4 separate regions of the Homo sapiens genome follow, and all the other regions are linked to region 4. The links are contacts of gene promoters, found by promoter capture Hi-C in human tissues and cell types (Jung and others, 2019). All regions are on one chromosome and are shown on one strand. Each heading gives the region's core, a stretch centred on a gene start or on the middle of the fragment in contact. The rest is flanking DNA. Distances are from core to core; before and after follow the strand shown.

Region 1 (2,979 bases), core at 352-2,851, 860 kb before region 4:
GGTAAAAGTCAAAATGTGTTTCTAGAATTCCTCCAAGTCAATTTTTTTCTTTCATTACTTTTCCCTATTTCATCGGTTTTCTTCCTCTTCTTTTTACCTTTTTTTGTTTCAGTTATATCTACCACTGAGTAAAAGATACCTCACTCCTGAAACTCAGGCCAATCCCCACCAAAGAGGAGAGGTGGATTATACAAAGTGAAAAAAAAAAAAAGAAATTTAGAGGTTATATATGTGAGACAACAGTTACTGACTATGTCACTTATTCTTATATCTACTGTCATACTATTTATTTAGATCTTACAAATATAAAAAAAGATAATTAAACACCTTTCTAAAAAAAATTGACCATTCTTAAAAAAGTATAAGCTTGGCAATTTATAGGAAAAAGACTGCAAATAATCCCAAAAGATATATATCTTCCCTAATAATCAGAATCATCTCATGGGATATTAGCAATGGAATATAATTTCCTCACTCCTGGTTTCCATGAAGAGGCACATTCTCACATTCCTTGCACCTCTCTGTTCTTTATTTTCCTTTCCCCGGGGGAGTGGAAGTGAGTTGTTTGCAAAGTAAACTCGTGAAGGGTTACCTCCTTTGCTTAGCTGAGCTCCAACCTCCTTCGCCACCATTTCCATCTTCTCCCTGCTCTGCTCACAGGAAGGGAGGTAAAGGTTGGTAGAAGACCAATGCTGCTGTGACTGATGAGTCAATCTTCTTATTCTGGGGCTTGCATAACATAAAAGTAGTGCATTTGGATCCCACGTTAATCCATCACCTTCTAAACTGGCCTATATCAATTGTATAGATGTTAGTTTGGACTTGTCTTTATATTTACCTATTTGTTTATTGGAAAAGATGGATGCAGTTTATTGTCTTGTAGATCCTAACATATTGGTCATAATTTACATGCATGCTCCATTAACAGTCAATACATAGAGAGTTAAATATAATTATCACTGAGAGCTTGGATTTACAAAATTGAGCTTAACCAATCAGGATCTTAAAAACAGTTAAATAGAAATAAAAATCTCTTTAAATTGAAATATGGGTGTTGATCACCCTTTAAGACTTTAATACTTCATGTTCCCTTATATTTCCTCATTGGAGGGTTTCCAGAGCACTTAAGTTTGAATTAAATATTTTCTTTCCCAGTTCCTCTATTACATGTTATACTGTTAGTGTAGTGCTTGCCAAAATCCACCTTGTCATACAAGCATTTGTGTATTGTTTTCACTGGAAATCAGGGGCCCATGGGTTATTGTAATGATATGCTTCCAGTTTCTAGGTACATGCCCTGCATACCCAATAAGCATTTATAGAAATCAATTAAATCACAGTTTCCTTGGAAGATAACAAACAGCAAATAGTTGGATAATAAAATCACATTTGTTCCACTTTACGAAATAGTTTTAGTTAGATTAGATGACTTTGCATTTTTTTTAACTCTGTAATGACCTATATCTCTATGACGTTTTACGGAAATTTAATTTGTATAAATTAAAGTTCATCTAATGAATATTATTTAATGGAGCCGGCAGTGAATCATTCTATACATGAACAAATACTTGGTAATTGGAATAATTACTTCCTGTATCCCTTTTTCTGATATTCCTCTTAACATACGTGTTTCTTAAGTCTATTTTTTCCTATTATTCTTTTAAGAACTGCAGTGTAGATATTATTTTTAGAGTGGCAGATAATTGACATAATGTGACTATCTCAATTTGTTGAAATTCTGTCCTTTAGGAACTGATGATCATAAGATCATAAGATGTAGGAACCTCCATTTAGTCAAGCATTTTATAAAGAACAAGTGATAACATAGAAGCCTCGATACTATGGAAAGAACTAAAGGTTTATAATGAGAGAATCTGGCATATAACCCTGGACCAACCACTTATTAGTTGTAACTTTTGGCAAATAACTTATTGTGGATGATTTTCACATATGAAATTGGATGATTATTTCACTAGGTAATTGAGAAGATCAAGTAAGATTATTTATGTAAATATGCATTGCAAATTTAAAGCTTTATATAAACATTAATTGTTAACATTATTTTTAAAATATCACATTTGTAGATGTCTTTCTCTGGTCTCATTGTTACTACAAAGATGTTCATCTACTTGATGAATTCCCTCCCACATGGGCCTACTTCTCTGTTTATATATTATCTTAGGAAACACTTGTTTTAAAAGAACAAAAATGTACTCAAACTAGTATAAGTTAAAAAAAGCAATTAAATTATTAGGAAGATTGATACCAATCCTTAAGCAAGAATTTCTTATACTTTTTAAGAACTTTAATACTATCAGCAGACTCCATCAGTGTCCCGACATTAATTCTGAGGCAAAAAGAAAAATCTGATTGGAACCTTGTTTTACCAATGTTTGTACGCAAACTCACCTGGAAAAATTCATGAGCACCTTATTTCTACCAGTTAGAGGGAGTGCAGAATGGAAGCAAATACTCAAAGATTGTGATGAACATGGGAATGGACATGGACATTTTCACTCATGCTGTCTTAATTAACAGGATTATTGTTTATGGTCAGACTCTGGAGGCCTAACTTGATTAACAGCGTAAATATGTATGTAGAATATCTCACCCAATATTAGCACACAATAGTCATTCAATAAATGGTAGCTTTTATCCCTGGTTTCACATATACTTAAAGGTAGGTATTTCAAAAACATCTATTGAGTAAATGAATTAGTGATTAATAAAAATTTAATAAAATCAAGTGAATGTACTAAAAGCAACTCAGTTTCCACTTATCTTCTTTTTTGTCCATAACTTAGGTCTCAGGATTAGAAGAGCTAATTTTCTGTAAAATCTGTCCTTATTACCAGTCTGTACCATCTTAGAGGAAATATAATACTATTGAATATAATCATACTAAGAAGCTAAGGAAGCTATATTGAGTTTGGGAGGCTTTTGTGGACTTTCCTAAATAATCAGGTTTAAGTGTTCAAA
Region 2 (2,884 bases), core at 246-2,745, 710 kb after region 4:
TTTTCAAGACTTTCCATGAAAAAGCATTAGGCATCCACCTTACAGTCCTGATTTGGCTCTTTCTGACTTTTTTGTTTCTTACTCTTTAAAAATCTGTAAAAGGGGCCAGGTGAGGTGGCTCATGCCTGTAATCCCAGCACTTTGGGAGGCTGAGGCAGGTGGATCACGAGGTCAAGAGATCGAAACCATCCTGGCCAACATGGTGAAAGCCCATCTCTACTAAAAATACAAAAAATTAGCCAGGCGCGGTGGCGGGCTCCTGTAGTCCCAGCTACTTGGGAGGCTGAGGCAGGAGTATCACTTGAACCTGGGAGGCAGAGGTTGCAGTGAGCCAAGATTACACCACTACACTCCAGCCTGGCAACAAAGCAAGACTCTGTCTCAAAAAAAAAAAAAAAAAAAAAAAAGGAAGAAGAAAAGAAAATCTGTAAAAGGTACTATATTAGTCCAATCTCATGCTGCTATGAAGAAATACCCGAAACTGGGTAATTTATAAAGAAAAGAGGTTTAACTGACCCGCAGTTCCCAGTGTCTGGGGGGAGGCCTCAGGAAACTTACAATCTTGGCAGAAGGCATCTCTTCACAGGGCTGCAGGAAAGAGAATGAGTCCCGAGCGAAGGGGGAAGCCCCTTATAAAACCATCAGATTCCGTGAGAACTCACTCACTATCGTGAGAACTCACCCACTCTCATGAGAACAGCATGGGAAAACTGCCCCCATAATCGAATTCACCTCCTATGAGGTCTCTCCCACAACACGTGGGGATTATAGGAACTACAATTCAAGATGATATTTGGGTGGGGGCACAGCCAAACCATATCAGGTACTTATTTCCCTTCAGTTAATAATGAAAAAAAGACTGCATTGATAATGATTAAATTCCCGGACCTTCAGTTCTTTAGGGATGGACTAAGATGGCTGGTATCACGGCTTATATGAGTGAGTTGAACCTGATGTAGCTTATGTTAAGAAATAAAGTTTACATTTTCATTTTTATCTTTCAATTATTTTCTTCCATGAATTTTTTGAAGTTCCGTCATATTACCCTCCAAATTTAGTAGTTTGTAACAACTATTTGATTATGTTCATTGGGCTGTCAGACTCTATGAGTCAGGATTTCAGAAAAGGAACTGTAGGGATGGGTTGTTTCTACTCCATGATGTTCTGAACCTTTTCCGAATCTAGAGATAGTGCAATGGGTGGGGACCAGAAAGCTTTGAAGGCTCATTTGCTCCCATGTCTAGAGCCTGAGTTGAGGTGACTCAAATATGGAGACTCACTAACCACAGCACCTACACATGCCTTCTCCATGTGGCTTGACTTCTTCACAACACCATGGCCTTGGGGTATATGGACTTCTAACACAGTAGCTCAGGGCATGAGTATTGTAGTGCACAAGATGGGAATTCAATTCCCTTTTATGGCCCAGCCAGATTCAAGGGGAGGGGAACTCTTCATGAGAGGGTGGCATATAAGACAGGAAGTGCTATTATAATCATTTACCATCCAGTCCTGTTCTCTACCTATTACTTGTACTTTTTCTACCTTGTTAAATTAAAAAAGAAATAACTGTATGTCTTTACATAGCTTTATTACTCAAATATGGTGAGGTGGGTGTGTTTTGTTCTAACTTTTAAAAACTATATATAATTTTTTAAACTCGATCTTCCTTAAAGATTCCAGAACACCTCCACTGAATGAATGGGTTGGAATGATGTGTCCTTCTGATGAAAATCACCACTTCGCCATTGATTTCTCAAATGCCCAGTAATCAGAGGAGGAACAAACATACATTAATCTCATTTTTCACAAGAGGATATTTTGTATCTGACCAGAAAAGGAGCTTTCCAAATATTTGGTGAATTATTTGAAACATTAAAAAAAAACTTTAAAATAGGCTTATAGAGTTTATTTGAATTCTTTAGTTGTTTATGATATCTTTTTGGCCATAATCTTCAAAATTAGATCCAATGGAAGACATTTCAAAATAGTAGGATACTATATAGAGATAATTTATGTTCAGGGTAATTCATTTCCCTAATGACCTTTTCCTTGCAAATTGCACAAGTTTGATTTGTGAACTCAAAGTATGTAAGCTTTAGTCTCATATGAAACATAACAGTCATAAAATAAAAATTTCTTTTTCCTCTTTGACAGGAAGACTTCTTAGTTTCTCTCTATATTCAATTCTCAGTTAAGAGCTTTCCTTGTTGAAGGCTGAGTATGAGTTTTCCACTGCTATTGTCAGCTTTTATCATTTATTTGAACCAAGGTCTCCTTAGTACATTAGTTTATCTTGACTGTCAGTAAGAGATACTGACAGTTTCACCTTCACAAGTGTTTATTAATTTTCTTTTCTTTTTTTCTAAGCATAGACTGGAGATCAGTGACTACTTTTTTCATATTCTTATCATACTGATGAACTTTTAAAAAAATTCAAAACATATATGGCATAAGGTCTTTTAAGTGATGACTCTTCCCCAGAATATTACAAATAGTACCCAATTTATTAATGTTGAAGATGTTAAATGATTCTCCTCTATTGACTATATTTTATTTTTTATTTGTTTTTTAGCTGAAAGAAATATAAGAAATACAACCTAATACTGTAATGAAGTGTTCCTGAACAAAAATACAGATAAGCTGTTTTAAAATATTATCTTTATTTGTATGCTCATATCAGGATAACTCCAACTAAGGCAATTTGTCTAAGTAGCTCATTTATTTAAAAAGAAAAGTAAAAATAGCAATGAATTATTTGCCTCTGACATATTTGTGAAAGTTTTTTAAGAATTGTGCTGGGATGGGAAAGATGCCTAGGAAGCATTTTCCCTAAGAACATCAGGCTTCTTACAGCAATTTATACACATGTATGGTAAATTAT
Region 3 (2,937 bases), core at 351-2,850, 830 kb before region 4:
CCTGGCTAATTTTTGTATTTTTAGTAGAGATGGGGTTTTGCCATGTTGGCCAGGCTGGTCTTGATCTCCTGACCTCAAGTGATCCACCTGCCTTGGCCTACCTAAGTGCTAGGATTACAGGTGTGAGCCACCATGCCCAGCCGAATTATTGTTAATTTATACAGAAGGATCTGGCCTAGAAAAAAAGAGAGATGTCAATGATTAAGAACAGCTTGCTAGTTAGCAGCACCTGTACGATGTGATGATGGCAATACTTAAATTATTCTGGCCAGTCCGGTGAACTCAGTGGCTTAGATTGGCCAAGTACTCAAAAAATGAGCAAAATAATCTGGACATTACAAAAAGATATCATAAAATTCATGCACTTAATTCATAGGAATGCCCATGACATTTTACATGTGATCTGAAGTGTTGAATGATCTAGTTTAGAAACTCAAAAAACATGAAAGGCCAGCAATAATAAGAGGACAAATGAATGCTTCTAAAGACAGATACCTTTTGCAACAAACAGTAAGTGCTTTCAGCCTAAGTGTGATGGGGAAGACAAAAATAAAATCTAAAAATTGGTGGTAAGAAATTTTAGACTGGACAACGTAGCAAGACCCAGCCTCTACAAAAAATTTAAAACCTTAGCTGGGCATGTTGGTGTATGCCTGTGGTCCCTGCTACTTGGGATGCTGAGATGGAAGGATCTGTTGAGCCCAGGATGTCTAGGTTGTTATTAGCCATGATTGTGCCATTGCACTTTAGTCTTGGCAAAAGAGCAAGACCTTGTCTCCAAAAAGCAAAATAACAAAAAAGGAAACCTGAATATCCAATATTCCATGACTAAGTCCTACCTGTTGGATTAGCCCTGGGAGCCTCGTTGTATAAAATTACAATACAGTCATTTACACTGAGAATGGTGACCCCCTCAGCTTGAATAGTGTATAATCAATTTTGGAAATAATACCATTTTCAACATGCTTAGGGTTATAAGTGGTCAGCTTCATTTTTTTTTGATTGAATGCTTAATGAAACACTTCATTTTTCTCATGATACTGAATTTTTAATGTTTTCTGAACTATAGAAATAATATTTTTAGGAAAAGATCATAGATTCTTAAATAACATATTTAAACATTCTGATTCATTCATCTATTCATTTTTATATTAACCAACTGCTTATTGAGTTTATTCCCTGTGTGAGACACTCTTCAGAATGCGTTGAAGAGTCTGATCTTTCTCTGTTTTTAATAACCTTTCTCCTTGTGAGAAAAGAAAGAAAGCATATCAGTGCAGTTACAATTTATGCAAGACTCTGAAGCATTTTTTAATGCTTTGGGACAACTACTCAGAGAAAGCTGTAAGAGTACAAATTACCAAACAAATCCTATTATTCCTTTCCTCCTCCTTTATAACTGATGCAACAAATGAGAAAATGTAAATGTAGCATATTGCAAATCGGTGGCTTATAAGAAATACACAAGTAAATGAGATAAATATTTGCCCAATGAACAAAAATGTAAATATGTTTTTTCCTAAGAGGATACGATCAAAGGTAGATGATAAATAACTTCTTAATAAAAGTGTATAAGAAGCTAGTTCTTTTTACTTGATCCAAATGTACCATTTCAAATATTTGTAATGCTGCTCTGGAAATGCATACTTACAATATCTAAGTCTAAGTTTATCCAATTGAAACCAAGAGCAGGTCTATTGATATGACACGGTTTGGCTGTGTCCCCACCCAAATCTCATCTTGAATTGTAATCCTCATAATCCTCATGTGTTTAGGGAAAGACCCAGTGGAAGGTGATTGGATCATGGGAGCAGTTTCCCCCATGCTGTTCTCATGATAGTGAGTTCGTTCTCACGACATCTGATGGTTTTATAAGGGGATCTTCCCCCTTCGCTACTCAATCTTCTCTCTCCTGCCACCATGTGAAAAGGTGTTTGCTTTCCCTTCACCTTCTGCCATGTTTATAGGTTTCCTGAGGCCTCCTCTAGCCATGTGGAAGAGGTCAATTAACCTCTTTCCTTTATAAATTACCCATTCTTGGGTACTTCTTTATAGCAGTGTGAAAATAGACTAATACATGAGATAACATATGAAAATACAAATCCAAACCCCGCTTGGCAGTTTTTTCCTCATTTTTGTTTCTGTACTTAATGAGGACTCCAAAATTTACAGAAGGTTCTTAAACAGAATCAAATATGTTGGCTTGTCAATGCCTAGAAATACATTCCACAGTGCAGGTCCTGCTCCTTTGTTGATTTTCACTTTCCTCAAAATGCTTTTGTGGTTGGAGTTGTGTTCTCTTGAAATATGTTTTTTAATAGTAAACAACTAAAGAGGGAATTGTATCATTGAGTCAGTGAGCATTTTATGAACATAGAATCTACATCACCAGGAGACAATCAGATGTGTTAAAAAAAAAAAAAAAAGAAAAAACTAAGAAAATGTTGAAGGACTCAATCAGTGCTTTCGTCAGAAAAGTTCTAAATCCAAAAATTGGCCCCACTCAATGAGTACTTGTACACAGTACAAAAAACAACAATTTTGTCTTGAGATGTGTGTGAGATGCTGATGGCAATTACATTCAGACTCCAATTTAATATTATGCAGGCAATTTATTGATTACATGTCAGATCCTCAGTTGTTTTGCATATATTTTCCATTAATGGCCTCAATGATCTTCTGAGATATTACAGTCATCTTTTTATAAATGATTAAACTATCATTCAAATGATTTTGAATGGCTTTTCCAAAGCCACCCAGTGGGTAAATGACAAAAGTAAGGATTTAAACTCTTTTGTATGATTTTCTTTTTTCTTTTTTTTTTTTCTTTTCTTTTCTTTATAGATAGGGTCTTGCTCTGTTGCCCAAGCTGGAGTGCAGTGGCACAATCTCAGCTCACTGCACCCTCGACCTCCTAGATTCAAGCTATTTCTCCTA
Region 4 (3,102 bases), core at 154-2,653:
TGGTCAGGCTGGTCTCAAACTCCTGGCCTCAAGTGATCCGCCCTCCTCAGCCTCCCAAAGTGCTGAGATTACAGGCTGAGCCACTGCGCCCAGCTGATGAAATCACCTTTAAAAATGACTAGTTAGGGGCAGAACTAGGATTTGAACTTGGGTCTGTCTGACTTCATTCAGAGCCTGCTTTCAAATTAGACAGCAGCCTCCACCTGTTTAGAGTCAGAGATTTGTATTCCATGGGTGTTATTGAAGCAGACGTATCTCCTGATAATAGCATAGACATTTGGGACAAGGTAAAAGTTTCCCCAATGAGTCTATCAGAAACCACTCTTATCTCTAAAGAAATAAGCCAATTTGTTACTCATTATAGAACTGACTTAAAGAATTCACGAAAAACAGGCTTCCCTCTCTGATGGCTTCATCTTTGTTGAGGCTAAGACTTGAGTGTTCAGTTCAAAACAAAAACGAGAAACAAAATAGCGCAGGCCCTGACCAAAAGGTCCATGTCTAAGGTTGGCACTGACCTTCAGCCCAGGGACATCCCTCCTCTACAGTACTCACTGCCTGTCCAGTCTTTGAGATTCTCACTCTAACCCTGGCAGGACTTCATCTGCTGCCTGGATTCCCAGACTTGGTTGGGGCTCAATAGTGATCCTGACACAAGGAGTGGGAGAATGCATTCACTTACTGGGAGGGCAAGGGGCGCTTGATCCTGACCACAGCCACCTGCACTCCATCCTGCTCGGGCCTCTCCTCAGCCTCTCCTCCATAGCCGCTGTCCTCTGTGTCTACGCTGTCACTCCTCCATGTGGGCTCCTCCTGCTCCATCACTCTCCAGCCCTTGGTTAGCTCAGACACCAGGTTGGCACATTTTCTCCTCCGCGTTGGGGAGCCGTGGCTGTGGAGGATTCTGTCAATGTCATTCTCTGGCTGCCCAGGTTCAAGCACACCAGCATCCCTCTCGTACCTGTGGCTGAGGTGGCTCACGTCCCCTCCTCTCTCATAAGTCTTGCTGACCACCGTTTTGGACACCTCTTTCTTTTTGATGTGAGAAACCTCAGGGGCTTTCTCTGAGCTTTGTCCATCTCCATGTCCTTCTGGCAGGCGGGGTGGCGACTTTGGGGCACTCTGAGCTTTCTGGTGTGAAGTAGGGGGTGTGATTGGTTTAGGAGCTTGAGGTGAGTCCTGGGTCCCTCCCGGCAGCCAGCCTGTAGGCTCCTGGGCCTGCCTGATGCTGTTCTCATTCGCCCACTGCTGCCAACCTCGGGCCAAGCTGATGACCAGGGTGGCTGTGCGTATCTTCCGGAGGGCGCTCTTGGCTGGGCCCTCCCCGCTTTCCTTTTCGCCCGGAGCCATGCTGCCCACCTGTCTTTCTCTGCTGATAGCCTGGACACTGGCTAAAATGAGTGTGGTCCAGTGGAGTGCCTGGGATTTAAATAGAAGCAGGGTGCGGGGTGGGAAGGAGAGCTTAGTGACGATGGAAACTATGTGAAGCATTTCTTGCCAAGATGTGGCGCCTTTGCCCTGATGGTGTTCTTTTTATAAATCATGACAGCTCCAGTTTCATCACGGCAGAGGGACATCTCTGCTGGTAAGGAACAGTGATATGCTCACTCTCTTCTCCAAGTGCCAGAGTGGAAATTACTAGATCAAGTCATGTGCTCAGCCTTACGTTTGTCTGACCTTAATATGGTCCTACCATTTATAGGTGCATACATATTATCCTGGGAACATTATAGGATTGTTCCCACTTAAACCCCAGCAGCCCTCAGTACAGCTCCTAATTAGTTCCACTTTATAGCTAAGTAAAATAAAATCTAACTTCCAGCAGCTAATAAAATATGAGATTCAAATCCATCTCTGTGTAATTCAAAGCGTGTGCCTCCTTTTATTCCAGTTATCAAAGATCCTAAGTTGCCTTTTTCTTTTTCATTCAACTCCATTAGAAATAGACCTTAGAAAATCAACTCATCCAATCTTCATTTTCCAAATGAGAAAATTGAAGCCCAGATACGAGAAAGACCAAAGTCCAGATAGTCAAAGACTAATTACTTTCTAGTCCCAACTTTGAACTATTGTATAGATAACTCATATTAAAATACAAAAAGGGAGTCAAAATTTTGGTCCAATCATTAAAAAATGTTTTTAAAACCTGTATACACATTGGATTTTAGAAATTATTATTGGAGGCCGGGCGAGGTGGCTCACGCCTGTAATCCCAGCACTTTGGGAGGCCGAGGCGGGCAGATCACGAGGTCAGGAGATCGAGACCATCCTGGCTAACATGGTGAAACCCCGTCTCTACTAAAAATACAAAAAATTAGCCGGGCGTAGTGGCGGGCGCCTGTAGTCCCAGCTACTCGGGAGGCTGAGGCAGAAGAATCCTGTGAACCCGGGAGGCGGAGCTTGCAGTGAGCGGAGATCGAGCCACTGCACTCCAGCCTGGGTGACGAGCGAGACTCCGTCTCAAAAAAAAGAAAGAAAGAAAGAAAGAAATTATTGTTGGAATACATATTTTGAAATACTTTGTTTGAAAAGATCATCTAAGGACAGAATTCTAAGGACAGAATAAATGAAAGCTATCGGTAGCTCACTTCTTATCCCCATCCCGCCTACCCTTACCGTTTGGTTTGTGGTTGTTGTTTTGTTTTGTTTTTTGAGATAAGGTCTTGCTGTGTCCCCAGGCTGGAGTGCAGTGGTGTGATGATGGCTCACTGCAGCCTTGACCTCCTGTGCTCAATCAGTCCTCCTGCCTCAGTCTCCCAAGCAGCTGGGAATACAAGCATGAGCCACCATGCCTAGCTAATTGTTTTTGTTTTTGTTTTATATAGACGGAGTCTCGCTATGTTGCCCAGGCTGGTCTCAAACTCCTGAGCTTGTGCAGTCTTCCCACCTTGGCCTCCCAAAGTGCTGGGATGACAGATGTGAGCCCCCACGTCTGGCCCCTTTTGTTTTTAGTAACACAATCTTCCTTAGCAGGACTTTATGTTCATGTAGGCAAAGACAGTTTTTCAACTCTCACAAGAGGGACTGAAATATAATATTTTTTTAAAAGGACTGGAAAGACAAGCATGTGGACAGAAAGAGAAACATCTATGCAGTGTATTA

The links. The method cuts DNA at HindIII sites, captures the fragments that hold promoters and counts their contacts. A contact is called where the count stands out against the background at its distance.
Region 1: a contact is called between a fragment that was not itself captured here and the fragment with the promoter of ABRA in region 4, in 1 of the 25 tissues and cell types used here (dorsolateral prefrontal cortex).
Region 2: a contact is called between a fragment that was not itself captured here and the fragment with the promoter of ABRA in region 4, in 1 of the 25 tissues and cell types used here (mesendoderm cells).
Region 3: a fragment that was not itself captured here is called in contact with the fragment with the promoter of ABRA in region 4 in 1 of the 25 tissues and cell types used here (lymphoblastoid cells).

The regions. Positions count from the first base shown.
Region 1 is chr8:105,912,191-105,915,169 of GRCh38, forward strand. The region is part of intron 2 of ZFPM2-AS1 (ZFPM2 antisense RNA 1); the gene reads right to left. Among named protein-coding and RNA genes, the nearest start is that of ZFPM2-AS1, 150 kb to the right of the region's middle. The HindIII fragment of the contact is 3,555 bases long and covers 1-2,979 here.
Region 2 is chr8:107,481,150-107,484,033 of GRCh38, forward strand. The region is part of intron 1 of ANGPT1 (angiopoietin 1); the gene reads right to left. Among named protein-coding and RNA genes, the nearest start is that of ANGPT1, 15 kb to the right of the region's middle. The HindIII fragment of the contact is 4,650 bases long and covers 1-2,884 here.
Region 3 is chr8:105,935,506-105,938,442 of GRCh38, forward strand. The region is part of intron 1 of ZFPM2-AS1 (ZFPM2 antisense RNA 1); the gene reads right to left. Among named protein-coding and RNA genes, the nearest start is that of ZFPM2-AS1, 120 kb to the right of the region's middle. The HindIII fragment of the contact is 5,725 bases long and covers 1-2,937 here.
Region 4 is chr8:106,768,841-106,771,942 of GRCh38, forward strand. It overlaps ABRA (actin binding Rho activating protein), which reads right to left and starts at 1,404. Exons shown (of 2, transcript NM_139166.5): 1 at 683-1,404. The coding sequence starts at 1,350. The HindIII fragment of the contact is 12,258 bases long and covers 1-3,102 here.